Regions from separate parts of the Homo sapiens genome. Here region 2 is linked to region 1. Evidence: promoter capture Hi-C in human tissues and cell types (Jung and others, 2019). All regions are on one chromosome and are shown on one strand. The core of a region is centred on a gene start or on the middle of the fragment in contact, and the rest is flanking DNA. Distances in the headings are between cores, read along the strand shown.

What was found. Contacts are between HindIII fragments. The study calls those that stand out against the background at their distance.
Region 2: a fragment that was not itself captured here is called in contact with the fragment with the promoter of TCERG1 in region 1 in 1 of the 25 tissues and cell types used here (dorsolateral prefrontal cortex).

The regions. Positions count from the first base shown.
Region 1 is chr5:146,444,100-146,450,765 of GRCh38, reverse strand. It overlaps TCERG1 (transcription elongation regulator 1), which reads right to left and starts at 3,433. Exons shown (of 23, transcript NM_001382548.1): 1 at 3,358-3,433. The coding sequence starts at 3,416. RefSeq lists a silencer at 3,065-3,144 and an enhancer at 3,063-3,770. The HindIII fragment of the contact is 9,033 bases long and covers 1-6,561 here.
Region 2 is chr5:146,961,606-146,968,271 of GRCh38, reverse strand. It overlaps a transcript of PPP2R2B not described here. Among named protein-coding and RNA genes, the nearest start is that of PPP2R2B-IT1, 45 kb to the right of the region's middle. The HindIII fragment of the contact is 4,977 bases long and covers 1,518-6,494 here.

The sequences.
Region 1 (6,666 bases), core at 2,184-4,683:
TCTGCCACTAAAATGGTGACAAAATTCACATAATTTCCTTTTTTGAATAGCCTGAAGTTGCCATTTTCTGATGTTAATTACGCACAGAACATGGGCTGGGCTCTTTATATTATACTGCTTCATCACAACAACCTCACCAGAACCTGCAATGAGGATTAAATGAGCTAATAAAGTACTTGGAATAGTGCTTAGTATGTAAGTGCTATCTAAGTTATTAGCTATCATTACTGTTTCTGTAACATTAGGACAGTAATAGTACTGGTAAGTGTTAAATAATATTAATATTAGTAATGTTAGCTATTATTACTATAATTATTATATCAGGCCCTGTATAACCTGGCCCACATTAACCTTTCCACAAATTCTAGTCTTTTCCTTTAAATATTTCAAGTTTATTACTTTGAAGCCTCTGCACCTGTTCTCTTTGCCGAGCATGTTCTTCCCCAGATTTTCACATAACTAGCTCCTTCTCATTACTCAGCCTCTAGTTCAAATGTCACCTCAAACTGTTTTCCCACTTCTGGCCTCTACAGGCCCTCTCAGGATCATTATTCCTAATTTGAGTTTTCGATTATGATAAATGCTATGAAGAAATCTCCCATTTACTTCTGTATTATCTTTAGCCACTAGTATATAGTTCCCTTTAGTATACTGTTGCAACACATTAAAACACATTATTGTTTTAATAATGATAGTAAAGTTCCTATATACCAGCATGGTTATACAGACATTATCCGTATTAACTCTTAATCCTCACTACAGCCCAATAAGGTAAGTTTGACACCATTTTTACAGAGGAAATGATAGCACAGAAAAATATTTTCTTAAGGCAGCTAGTCAGTGATAACACCAGAATATTCTTATTCTCATTTTATAGATAAGGAAATTTAGATTGCAAGTATCTTAAGTATTGATAGGTAAACAAAGGCTCTAGGGAAAGGATCTATACAAATGACTCTGGAAGTTACTTTAATGGTATTTGGAACGTCTATAAATTTTCCATCTATTGTGATTTGCATTCCTACCACTTACAACCTTTCTGAAAAACAAAAGCCTACTTGCATGAATAGAAGGAACAAAAATATTTCACAAGAACATCATGGAAATACAAACATAAGGTATTTTTCTACAATAGAAGTTCTCTATCCAGATATGCAATCTCCCCAATGCTAAAGACAATACTTTAACTGGAGGGGCAAGAAATAAAAAGATGCTACCGATATATGGGGGCAAATTGTATAAACTATGATTGAGGAGACCTGAGGTTTAGTCCAGACCCTGCCAACTACCCAGTGACCTTGTGTAAGTCACTTCACACTTACAGGCAGATTTAATCATTTGATGTGGTTGATTTCATTTACAATTTAGATGGCTCTTACTTAAGCTGGAAGCTCCTGCAGGACAAACCTCTTTTTTCGGTCTGGTTCAGGGCACTATTACCAGCACCTAGGTCAGCAACTGTCATGTAGCACACAATAAATGTCGGCCCAATAAGTGAAGTATCTTTAAATCTCCTATCTTCATTTATTTACAACATAACTACAGAACATCTCATTTGCCAGGCGGTTATGACAGACACACCATGAAGTACATTCAGGTTACAAATATAATGCAAAAATTAAGCCCCAACTTCTGCCATCAAAGAGGCCACATACACACCTAATTTCATGAGAAATGCTAAAATAAAGATCTGTACAGTATGCTCTGCAAGCAACTTCCAATCCAAGAGGCTACGGTATAAAATATTTGCAACAGGGCAAATTCATTTGCAAATTAAAGCTCTATTCAAATCAGTTGTGCAACAGTGTCTAGACTATTAATAAAGCCATTTGGATTTTTTTAAAGCTTTAGAAAGATACTTTCTAAAATGCAAAAGAATGTTCCCTAATAAATCCATCTGAAACTAGCTAAGTAACCTCCCTTTAAGATCGAAATCAGGAATAAACTTGGCATCGCTAATATTTAAAGATGCTGACAATTCACCTTGATCACTCATTAATACTGTATACATATGGAGTTTAAAGGATTTCAGATTCATCTCTGAAATAAAACAAAATTTCATTTCTGCCAAAGTGGAGATTTGTGTGTGCGACCATACAGAATCTGAAAGGCATTTTCCTCTTCTAAAACCTTGAATAACAATACCCATTTCCTTACACAATTTCATCTTAAGTTCAAGACAGTATCAACAGAGTCTTCATAATCTACCCTGCTCTTTTTCATTTTCAAACGTTGACAACAGCACAATTCAGAATGGGAGCTGAACATCTGAAATGCCATTTCTCCCATACAGAAAAAAACCAAAGTACCAAATACACATAAAGCATAATACCTCTTTTCCTCAAAAACCACTGACCAAAAGATTTCTCCAGGTCACTCTCATTTTACCAAATTTTAATTACAAACTCATAGACACTGAGGTTCCAGGGGAAAAAAAGGTCACTGCACTGTTCAAGGAAATGGCATGAGTAGTAGACGAATAGAACGCCAATTGGGATTGCAGGCTCTGAAACCTGACTGCCTGAGTTCAAGCCACTTCCTGGAGCCACAAATCCGCCTATGCAATCTTATTCTACTGACTCAACCTCCACGAGGCTGTTATCTCACCTGTAAGATGGGCGAGTAACAACTGAAGACCCCTCTGGTCTGTGGCCTGCAAAATGTTAATAGCAACTACTCCAAAGGGTGGTTGTGAGGATTAAATGAGACAAACCTAAGTAAAGGGTTTACTGGCACACGGTAAGTGCCTAATAAGGGGTTGCTACTGTTGTTGTTACTCACAACTACAGGATAATAAGGAATAAAGGGATGAAAAAAGGAAGAAAAGCCACAGAAGTTAAGAAAGGCAAGCAATGAGGGGGATGAAATGAAAGGGCAAACGTGGGGAGCCCAAAGAGCCGCGGAGGGCGTGGAGAAGGCTTAGCCAGAAGTGGCGAGGGGTACAGGGAAAGTAACTGCGGAGTGCAGAGACGTCGATGAGGAAAATCAGGCCCGCAGCGGAGCGCGGCCTGGGGACAGACTCAGGTCGGCCGAGACGGAGGCGACACGCGGCTGAGGCGGGGCCCAAAGGCGGGAGCACCGCGCCCGGCCAGAGGGCTGCAGGCCGCGAGAGGCGGCGAGGCCCCAAGAAAGCACTAGGAAGCAGCCAGGGAACGCGCAGGAGGCCCTGGCCCAGCCCGGGCCCGGCTCTCATTCAAGCCACCTTCCCCTTCCCCCTTCTTAAACCCCATGCGGTCCCGGCCCGGGCCGCCCGGCTCCGCTACCCACCGTCCGCCCCGGATCTCCACATGGCAGGTCTAGCGTCTAGCCTCTGGGGCTCTCGTGAGCAGAGATGTGAAGGAGGGCAGCGTTCCTTACCTGAGCTCCCCCGGGTTGAATCGTTCACTCTCGCCCCCGTCCCCGCCACGCTCCGCCATTACAGAGGGCCGCGTTCATCCACCCGCCGACCCGACGTCTCCTATTGGCTAGAAAAATCGTCAATCCCCAACGAGAGAGGCGGAGACAGCAGAAGTCTGAGATGCGGTTGGTCAAACTTTCCATCAATCTTCGAAATGGGGGCGATATGTTCTTTGCTATTGGGCAAGGCGCCCGCCGACTTTGAAAGCGGTATGAAGACAGCCAGTTGATTGGTGACTCGGGGGCTTTATGGGAAATGAGATTTTAGCAGTGAGGAACCGCCGGCGCCCTCTCGCGGTAAGCAGAACTAAGTCCTCCCAAGTTCGGCTCAGCCTGCGGTAGCCACGTGTCTGTCGGCTTCCAGGAGAGCCAATTGTGGAGCCATATTGGCCAGTAGTAGCTCAGGCGGAGAGCATTTCCACTGGGCAAGCCAATCAAAATCGACCTGGGCCGCGCCTAAACCGATTGCACAGTTGCTGTGGAAAGCCGCTATTTCCTAGCTTTACAGTAGCAGGAGTCTTAAGTCACCACTCAGCTCTATATCCATGTTATTAAATAATATATTATTAATTACAAGAATACCTCCCAAATTATACTAAACCGTTGCAAGCCAATAGGTGTTATAAGTTGCTGCATTAAGAAAGGTAAATTGGCGAAGGCAAGCCTCTTTGCAATTTACAGCTTAACCACGTCTCCCTCGATCTCAAAATGTGCTTGTCTGAAATTAGCACACCCAGAATACCAGACAATTCTGAATATTTATTTAGTTTTTCTAATTAACAAAAAAAAAAGTTTTGGATTTGGGGTTTCAAAGGCACAATGAAGATGAGCCCTTTTATTAAAGTCGTAAAAATATTAAAATAATACTAATAGATAAATTTTACTTGGACCTAACCATGTAGCAAACCCGGATCTAAGTATGTCAGGTACGTTAACTCTTTTAAGATTCAAAAATTGCTAGGAGGTGGGTAACATAGTCACTGTTTGTAGATGAGCTTGAGGCACAGAGAAGTTAAGTAACTTGCCCAAGGTCACACATCTACTAAATAGCAGAGCCTGGTCTTAACCCCAGTCAGCGTAGTAGCAAAGCAGCACTCTTAAATACTGTAAGCCTAAATAATTGGATCCACATAAAAACATGTGCACAAATGTTCACAGCAGCAATATTCATAATAGCCAAAAAGTATTGTAACAACCCAATGACCATCAGCTGATGCATGGTTAAGAAGCATGGTATAGGCCGGGCGCGGTGGCCCAAACCTGTAATCCCAGCACTTTGGGAGGCCTAGACGGGCGGATCACGAGGTCAGGAGATCAAGACCATCCTGGCTCACACGGTGAAACCCTGTCTCTACTAAAAACAAATAGCCCGGCGTGGTGGCGGGCGCCTGTAGTCCCAGCTACTCGGGAGGCTGTGGCAGGAGAATGGCGTGAACCCCGGAGGCAGAGCTTGCAGTGAGCAGAGATCGCGCCACTGCACTCCAGCCTGGGCAACAGAGCGAGACTCCGTCTCAAAAAAAAAAGAAACATGGTATAACTGTACAATGAAATATTGTTCAGACATAAAAAGCCACATACAAAAAGGCCGCCTGTTGTATGATTCCATTTACATGAAATATGATGAAATTGCATTGCATTTCAGGCAAATACATACAGACAGAAAGTAGAACAGTGGTTTCCAGGAGGTAGAGGGGAATGAGGAATTGGAAGTGACTGCTGATGGATATGGAATGTCTTTTTGGATGATAAAAATGTTCTGGAATTGGCGCTGATGGTTGCACAACTTTGTGAATATACTAAAACCCATTGAATTCTATACTATTTATTTATTTATTTACTTATTTTGAGAGGGAGTGTCACTCTGTCACCCAGGCTGGAGTGCAGTGGCATGATATCAGCTCACTGCAACCTCCGCCTCCCAGGCTCAAGCGATCCTCACACTTCAGCCTCCCAAGTAGCTCCCACAGGCCTCCGCCACCACATCCAGCTAATTTTTTATATTTTTGGTAAAGACGGGGTTTTGCCATGTTGGCCAGGCTGGTCTTGAACTCCTGAGCTGAAGTGATCTGCCCACCTTGGCCTCCCAAAGTGCTGGGATTACAGGTGTGAGCCACTGCATACAGCCAACTCGTATACTTTAAAAGGTGAATTTTATTGTATGTGAATTATATTTTAATTCAAAAACACCATTCTACACTGAATTCCAGTTAAATATTCAAAATCAATTAAATATGATAAATTGTGATAAAGGCTTCACACAGTTCTGAGCATGAGTAATTGGAGGAGAGCATGGTGAAAATTTTGTTAAAGATGTGACATTTGAGGCTGGGTGTGGTGCCACAGGCCTGTAATCCCAGCACTTTGGGAGGCCAAGGCGGGAGGACTGCTTGAGTTTAGGAGTTTGAAACCAGCCTGAGCAAAATGGTGAGACCTCACCACTACAAAAAATCAAAAATATTAGCCAGGCATTGTGGTGCATGACTGTGGTCCCAGCTACTTGACAGGCAGAGGTGGGAGGGCCGCTTGAGCCCACTTGAGTCGAGGCTACTGTGAGCTGTAATTGCAGCACCGCACTCCAGCGTGGGATACAGAGTGAGACACTGTCTTAAAAAAGAAAAAAAAAAAGGTGTGGCATTTGAACAAACTATAGTTTGACTAAAAGTTGGGAGTTAGATCCCTTTTTCAACATCAGTGTGTATCCCCAAGTTCTGGTCAATATTCTGAAAATAATACTGGTATAGATGGCTCATTACAAACTAATTCCTACTAAAAAAAGATTCAAAATAGAAAGCTTATAGAAAATAAGTCACTAGCATATATAAAAGATGAAAACAGGCCGGGCGCTGTGGCTCACGCCTGTAATTCCAGCACTTTGGGAGGCCGAGGCAGGTGGATCACCTGAGGATTTCGAGACCAGCGTGGCCAACATGGCAAAACCCCGTCTCTACTGAAAAAATACAAAAATTAGCTAGGCATGGTGGCACGTGCCTATAGTCCCAGCTACTTGGGAAGCTGAGGCAGGAGAATCGCTTAAACCTGGGAGGCAGAGGTTGCAGTGAGCTGAGATCTCGCCATTGCACTCCAGCCTGTGTGACAGAGTGAGACTTCATCTCAAATAAAAAATGAAAACAAACTGTCAGTTGAAGAAACTCCTTGCAGGTATTAAAAATTTTATTATCTGATAGTTTTTATTATGTTATTTTTATCTAAATATACTTTAAGATATTTATATTATAGTATAATCTTTTAAATAGATTAAGTATATACATA
Region 2 (6,666 bases), core at 2,757-5,256, 520 kb before region 1:
AATGTCCCTAAACACCATCACTGCCTATTTATTTGGAGGAAAGGTTCAAAAAAGGGTGGAAACTCTGAACTGATACCCATGGAATGTGGAATGACTTTGCCACTGTCCTTTGAGTGTTGCCTGAGCCCCTTTGCCCAGGTCAGTGATCCAGAACAGACAATTCAATAAGTACAGTGTCAAGTTTCCCCAAGGGCATGTGGATGGCCTCTACATAACTTTCAATTAACACGTAATTGGCAAGATTGTTCTAGATTCATGGGGCCTTGGTTGTGTTCCTTTAGTGGTGCATGCGGCTTATATAAGCTGAGTGGGCTGTCTTTGAGAAATGTCCAGACCTTGAAGGGAAAATTTTCCTCTTTTCCATCACTAGCTTGTTTGCTGCAGTGAGGATATTTCTGGTTCTTGGCTGAGTCGGTCTCTCTTTTTGGCCCATGTACCCCTAGGGAATTGCTGCTGCCACAGATGGAAACTAATTGAAGAGTAACCGTAGGCTGGGACTGCAAACCGGGAGGGAGGAGGGCTAGCTGCAGGATGCCTGGCATCTCTATGTATTCTGACTTCAGCACAGTTTCTGAGCTTAAACATTCTGGGAAGTGCTTTACTGAGTGGGGCTGCCCCTGAGGTTTTCTGAGGGCCTTCCCTTACCTGATGTCAGCAAAGGAAATGTCCTGGATATAGTCCCCTAGGATGGCCACTGGTGCTTAGGAGTGTATCCTGGAAGGAAACTGCCTGCCTAGGTTCAAACCAGCGCTCTGGTTTAGAATCCAGGTAACCATGGGGAAATTACTTAACTTCTCTGTCCCTCAGTGTCCTCATTTATAAAATAGGAATAATATCAATGGAACCTATTTTACAGGGCTGTTATAAGGATTAAATGAGATCATTTGAACCCTGCCTGGCACATAATAAAATCTTCAATAAATTGTAGCTAATTTTTGTCTTTGAAGTGAACGTGGAGGAGACATCTAGAAACCAATAAAGACCTGGCTACAAGAAAAACCAATATGAGATTTAGCTTGGGAGAAAGGCTTCTTACAAAGGCTTAACCAAAACTCAGGCCTGGGTTTCCAGGACCGAATTAAGAAAGCCCTTTTTTATCCATGTATCTAATAGAGGGCAGTATGTTGCAGTGAAAACAGCAGGGCCTTTGGAATTAGACAAGACCTGGGTTTTAAACCTGAACTGAGTGACTTTCAGCAAATTGCTTCACTTCTATGAGACTCAGCTTTCAAATCTGTAAAATAGGTGAAACTATAAGAAGGATTTCAAAAGAGAGGATTAAATAAGGTATGGCATTATAATACTGAGCAAAGGGGAACCATGCTTGTTGAAATTGAAAGATCAATTCTAAGCCCTAGAAATTACTGATCCTATGTGGGTGGTGACATTACCCCCACTAAGCAGGCTGATTATAGAGATTAAATGAGGTGATCTATGTACAGACCTTAGCTCTGTGCCCGGCAAAAAGTAGGAACCATAAACAATAACAGCAGTGATTATTGGCATTGTCATTGATTTTTTATGCTATAGGCTACACATATTTTTGTGCTCCTACGCTGTGCCAGGCCCAGTGTTAGGTACGAGGGATACGTAAAGGAATAAGGCTCACATGGCCCCACACTTGGCTGCCTTCCGTTCTAGTTAGGGGCAAGAGAAGGGGATGGGAAACAGAAAGAAAGTAATGTTTTCAGACAACGATATGCTTTTGCATAAAATAAAATGGTATGATGGATTAGAGTGTTGAGGGAGGGGCCTTAGGTCATGTCAGAGGAGGCCGATCTTTGGCTCTGCTCACATAGCCGCAGTGTAAGAATACAGTTCTCAGGTCTTTGTGTCAGTTTGACAACTGCGCGAAGATAGAGGGGAGTCTACATAAGCAGGAACACCCCAGTATCTCCCTGGGCATGGCTGCAAGTCAACAAGCTGAAATCAGTGTGGACAAGATGGACACAACAGCCTCTTCCATGTGTGACCAGGTGACCTGACATAACCTCCGTGATTTCCTTACCTGCATGTGACCAATTCATCCACTAGGTGGCAGTGTTCAATAATAAACAATGACAACATTAACGAGCCTCTGGCCAACACTAATATCGCAGGCAGCCAAAGGACCATTAGCTAAGAACACCAACTACGGTTTTCCTTTCTAATGGGTGTACAGGATTCCAATTCCTGGCTTTGGTATGGTGACAATTTTCTTCTCAATCTCCTTGCATTTTATGTCTGAAATAGATAATGTTTTTAATTGCCATAACCGACCACATATTGTATGCCTGGGGAATGTACAAAGAGCTTTACAAACATTATTGCATTGCATTGCTGTACCAGCTTTGCAGTGAGTCGTACGATTCCCACTTTATAGATGAAGGATCTGAGGATCAGCGAGTAACACTTTGCCTGGATGCACAGCTGGTAAGTAACAGTGCTGGGTTCAAACCTGGTATCGGATGTCAGAGCCTAGCTATTAACCATCATGCTTTCCTGCTATGGATTTTAAGAAGAATTATTATCAAGATAAGTGCATTAGTGCAAAGTAAATTATCTCTGATATTAGGGCATTATATTTGTACTTATAATACTAGCATTCATACTACCAAATGGAGGATTTATGCAGCACTCACCTGGAAGCTGACGCAAAGCAAGCGGGGCCAGCGACACTTCTGCTGATACCTCAGGACAGGGCAGGCATATAGCAGCAGAGTTTTCTGACTATGACTGACAGTTCTGACAAGGTATCTTAGAGGAATGGAGGGCACACTGTCATTATTTTCTTTTTCACGGATTAAAAAAACAAGTCACAGAGAGGGAAAGTTGCTTGCCTGAGGTCCCACTGCAGTTCACCTGAACCACTCTCTGCACTTTCCCATTATCCTGAAAACTGGCTAATCAGAGAAAACCTCAACGTTCTGAACAAGTAAATGATAGTGTGATTCTGGGGAATACCTTCTATGATGTACTGGCAGATAGGGACAAATTATGTGTATGTATAAGAATTCTATAGCTTGAAAAATATTATTATTTTATTTCTGGAGGAAACAAACATATGGCTTAAATTTTCATCTTATATATTTTGAAGGGAGTTGGTGGATGATTTTCTTTTGGGAATCTAAGCCTGATTCTGCCATCAAACTAACTGAGTGACTGTGAGTAAGTTATTCCTCTCTGGGCCTCAATTAAGAGGATGAGATTAAGAAAATATAAACACACAGTTTGTCATGATGTTCTGGTGTGTAGCCCCATCAATTCCATATGTTTAGGTGATGGTATGCTAGAATTGGAAGGAAAGTTAGAGACAAATGGTATATTATCTTCATTTTACAGATGGGAAAACTGAGCCCCAGAGAGGAGTGACTTGTTCACAGTCACCCAAATAATAGATGGCAGGACCAGGCCCAGATTCCCAAAAGAGGACCCTTTGTCAACTCCCTTAAAAATATAGGAGATGCCGGTCAGGTGCGGTGGCTCACACCTGTAATCCCAGCACTTTGGGAGGCGGAGGCAGGTGGATCACGAGGTCAGGAAATCGAGACCATCCTGGCTAACACGGTGAAACCCTGTCTCTACTAAAAATACAAAAACTTAGCCTGGCGTGGTGGCGGGAGCCTGTAGTCCCAGCTACTCGGGAAGCTGAGGCAGGAAAATGGCATGAACCTGGGAGGCAAAGCTTGCAGTGAGCCAAGATCATGCCACTGCACTCCAGTCTGGGTGACAGAGCAAGACTCCGTATAAAAATAAAAATAAAAATAAAAATAAATACAGGAGCTGAGAACTTAAACCAGAAGCTTTTCTAGAGTGGGCTGTTGCGGGCTGGTCCTGCAAGATAAAAAAAATATCCTAAGGTTAAAAAATCTGCGAAGCACCAAGTCAAACTATTTAGCAGGACATGCCAGAAGCGTTAATATGCTAATGTTTATCATAAATCTCCCAAAAGGGAATTAGAGTATTTATATTTTGCCAAAATTGTTTAACCTCAAACTGTTTTTTCATTTTTTTCTTTGACTGTCAGATCTATGAACAGCTCACACAACAGTGTTTAATGGAATGCAACTGGGAAACACCAACTTAATTTTTGTTTTCTCAGTTTTCTGACGTATTTAGCCGTGGAATCTCATGTTTAAGAGGATAATAGGATAAATGTTTTGGGGAGCATACTTAGGAATGGCTTCACTGAGCAATGGACAAGGCAAAACTATCTTTGAACCCCAGTGTCCAGCTGACTTAAGGGCTACATTTGGATGGCCTACATGCCTGGAGAAGGTCAAGTATCATCAGAGGAAATTCAGCCTTGAGAAGGGTAAATTATTCATAATAGAGAGCTGTCTTTGTAAGAACCTTCTGAATGAGACCTGAAAGGTCAAGCTGTTACAATTGTTCTTTTTAGAGGACAACTCCTTTTATACAATATTTGAGAAATTAGCACAGATAGTAAGAGTTTAATACAATGAGTTAGGGAGTTAATGTCATTAAACAAAGCCAGAATTTTAGAAGTCAGACCAATATGGATTTGAATTTAGGCTGTGCAAGGTGTTAGCAGTGTGACTTTTGGCAAGTTACTCTAATTGACCTTCAGACTTCTTAAAATGGGGATAATAACATTAGTAAAAATTGGGATAATAACATTATCTATGGGAAAAAAAATGAAGACAGGAAATTGAAGGTGCCGTATATGTTCAGAATAATTGCTGATAAACCCCTTGGGGAAAAACTTGGGACCCCAAAGAAATGCTCAACTAACACAATATGTTCAATTAAGTGTTCTGCAGGGCAAAAGGATAAGAAATTCCAAGTGTGAGTGGAGGACTAACCTGGAAGTTCAGGTAGGAGCCAGTGAGTGGTGAGGCAGAGAGCAAGACAGGAGAAGGGGAAAGAGAGAAAAAACCTCACTTCACCCTCCAGATCCCTACTCCGTGGTGGTGCTAAGAAGAGGAACTCTGAGAATAAAAATGTTTGGGAGGAATTTTCACATGAAATTCCCTAGGCGATGTCAGCCCAATGTTTCACTACACAAAACCTCCATGAAGACAGCAAATCTCATGCAATGATTGTCTGCACTGATTCTGATTTTGATTTGATTTGATACCAGGTTATAACCACCACAGAGAGTTGTATAAGGACTCATAGGAAATGCCCCTAAATGGGAAGCAAAGCAAAGAGCTTGAGGTGTAGCTCACTTTATACAATTTGTTCTTGAATAATTGCCCCAATCCAATTTGTACACATTGAATCTTTTCTTGTTGAATTGCATCATCATCTCAAAGATGAGTCAGCACAGTAAAGGGGCCTGTGTTCTCTATTCAGCTCCACTAAGAAAGTCTGAGTGCCTTAGCCAGTTGCTCAGTCCACTGGGCCTTTGTTCATTCACCTGTAAAACAAGAGGTAGCAGGCATGGTGACTTATGAGACACATAATCTCATAAAAATGAGTTTGAAGTCATTGAGACCTGAGTTAGAGTCCCAGCTCTGCCACTATCTAGCTTTGGGCCTTTGGCAAGTTCCGCAGCGAACTTGAGGGTGATGAGAATCAAATAAGGTTATACTTGTAATTCTGAAATGGTATCTCTGATTGGGTCATCAATTGGTATTGGCTCCAAGGACTTTTTGCTTTAAGGTTGTTTTTTTTTTATTATTTTTATTTTTGCCCAGTCTGGAGTGCAATGGCGTGATCTTGGCTCACTGCAACCTCTGCCTCCTGGGTTCAAGCTATTCTCCTGCCTCATCCTCCTGAGTAGCTAGGATTACAGGTGTGTGCCACCACGCCCAGCTACTTTTTGTATTTTTAGTAGAGACGGGGTTTCACCATGTTGGTCAGGCTAGTCTCGAACTCCTGACCTCGTGATCCACCCGCCTTGGTCTCCCAAAGTGCTAGGATTACAGGCATGAGCCACCACACCCAGCCGCTTCCTTGTCTGGTTTTAATGCACACACATTCTCTTTCTCTCTCTCTCTCTGTCTACCAAATTCTTCTACCTTCTTCTGAAAAACAAAAGAGAAAGGAAACATTGGAAGCAAAGAGGAGGGAATGGGAAGAGTTGGCATGATCAATTTGAACTGACCCAAAGAAAAAAACAAGTGTATTGTGCTTCACAGCCTAAGTGTTTCTAGGGCTCAGAGTACACGTGTGGAAAGAAGAGCCCCAGCCATGTGCAGACTCAGAAGACCATACTAGATGGGAGTATGGGGGCAGGGATGTTGCGAAGAGTTTATTAACTCATTCCCTTCTTTTTGAAGTTCTAACTGGTTAAGAAAATTAATCCCAGACTAGCTAAATAAGCTTTTGCCAAAGTGTTTTCTGTTGAAAACACCTTAGATGGTGACTCCTTAATTCATTCTGTTCTCTAGGGACACACACAAGCAATGACCAGGAATTGCCAAAGCTAAAGTGAGTCAGACCACTTTATTTGACTAATAGGGACACCATAGAAAATCCCTTTTGCTTTATGATCCATTCCTTTGAAAAAAAATCTCCTCCATGGGGGACCAGTGTCTTCCTGACTATGGATTGCTTAAGTTTAAATATCCAGTACTGATGTTGGGCAGATTTTGGGCTGAATGCTCTCTGTAGATGACTGAACCAAATTTCAGGCTATAAAAATGGGTTTTCAATGGGTTAATACTCTTAACATATAAAAGGCATCACCAAACAAATATGAGGAAGGACAAGAAAGTA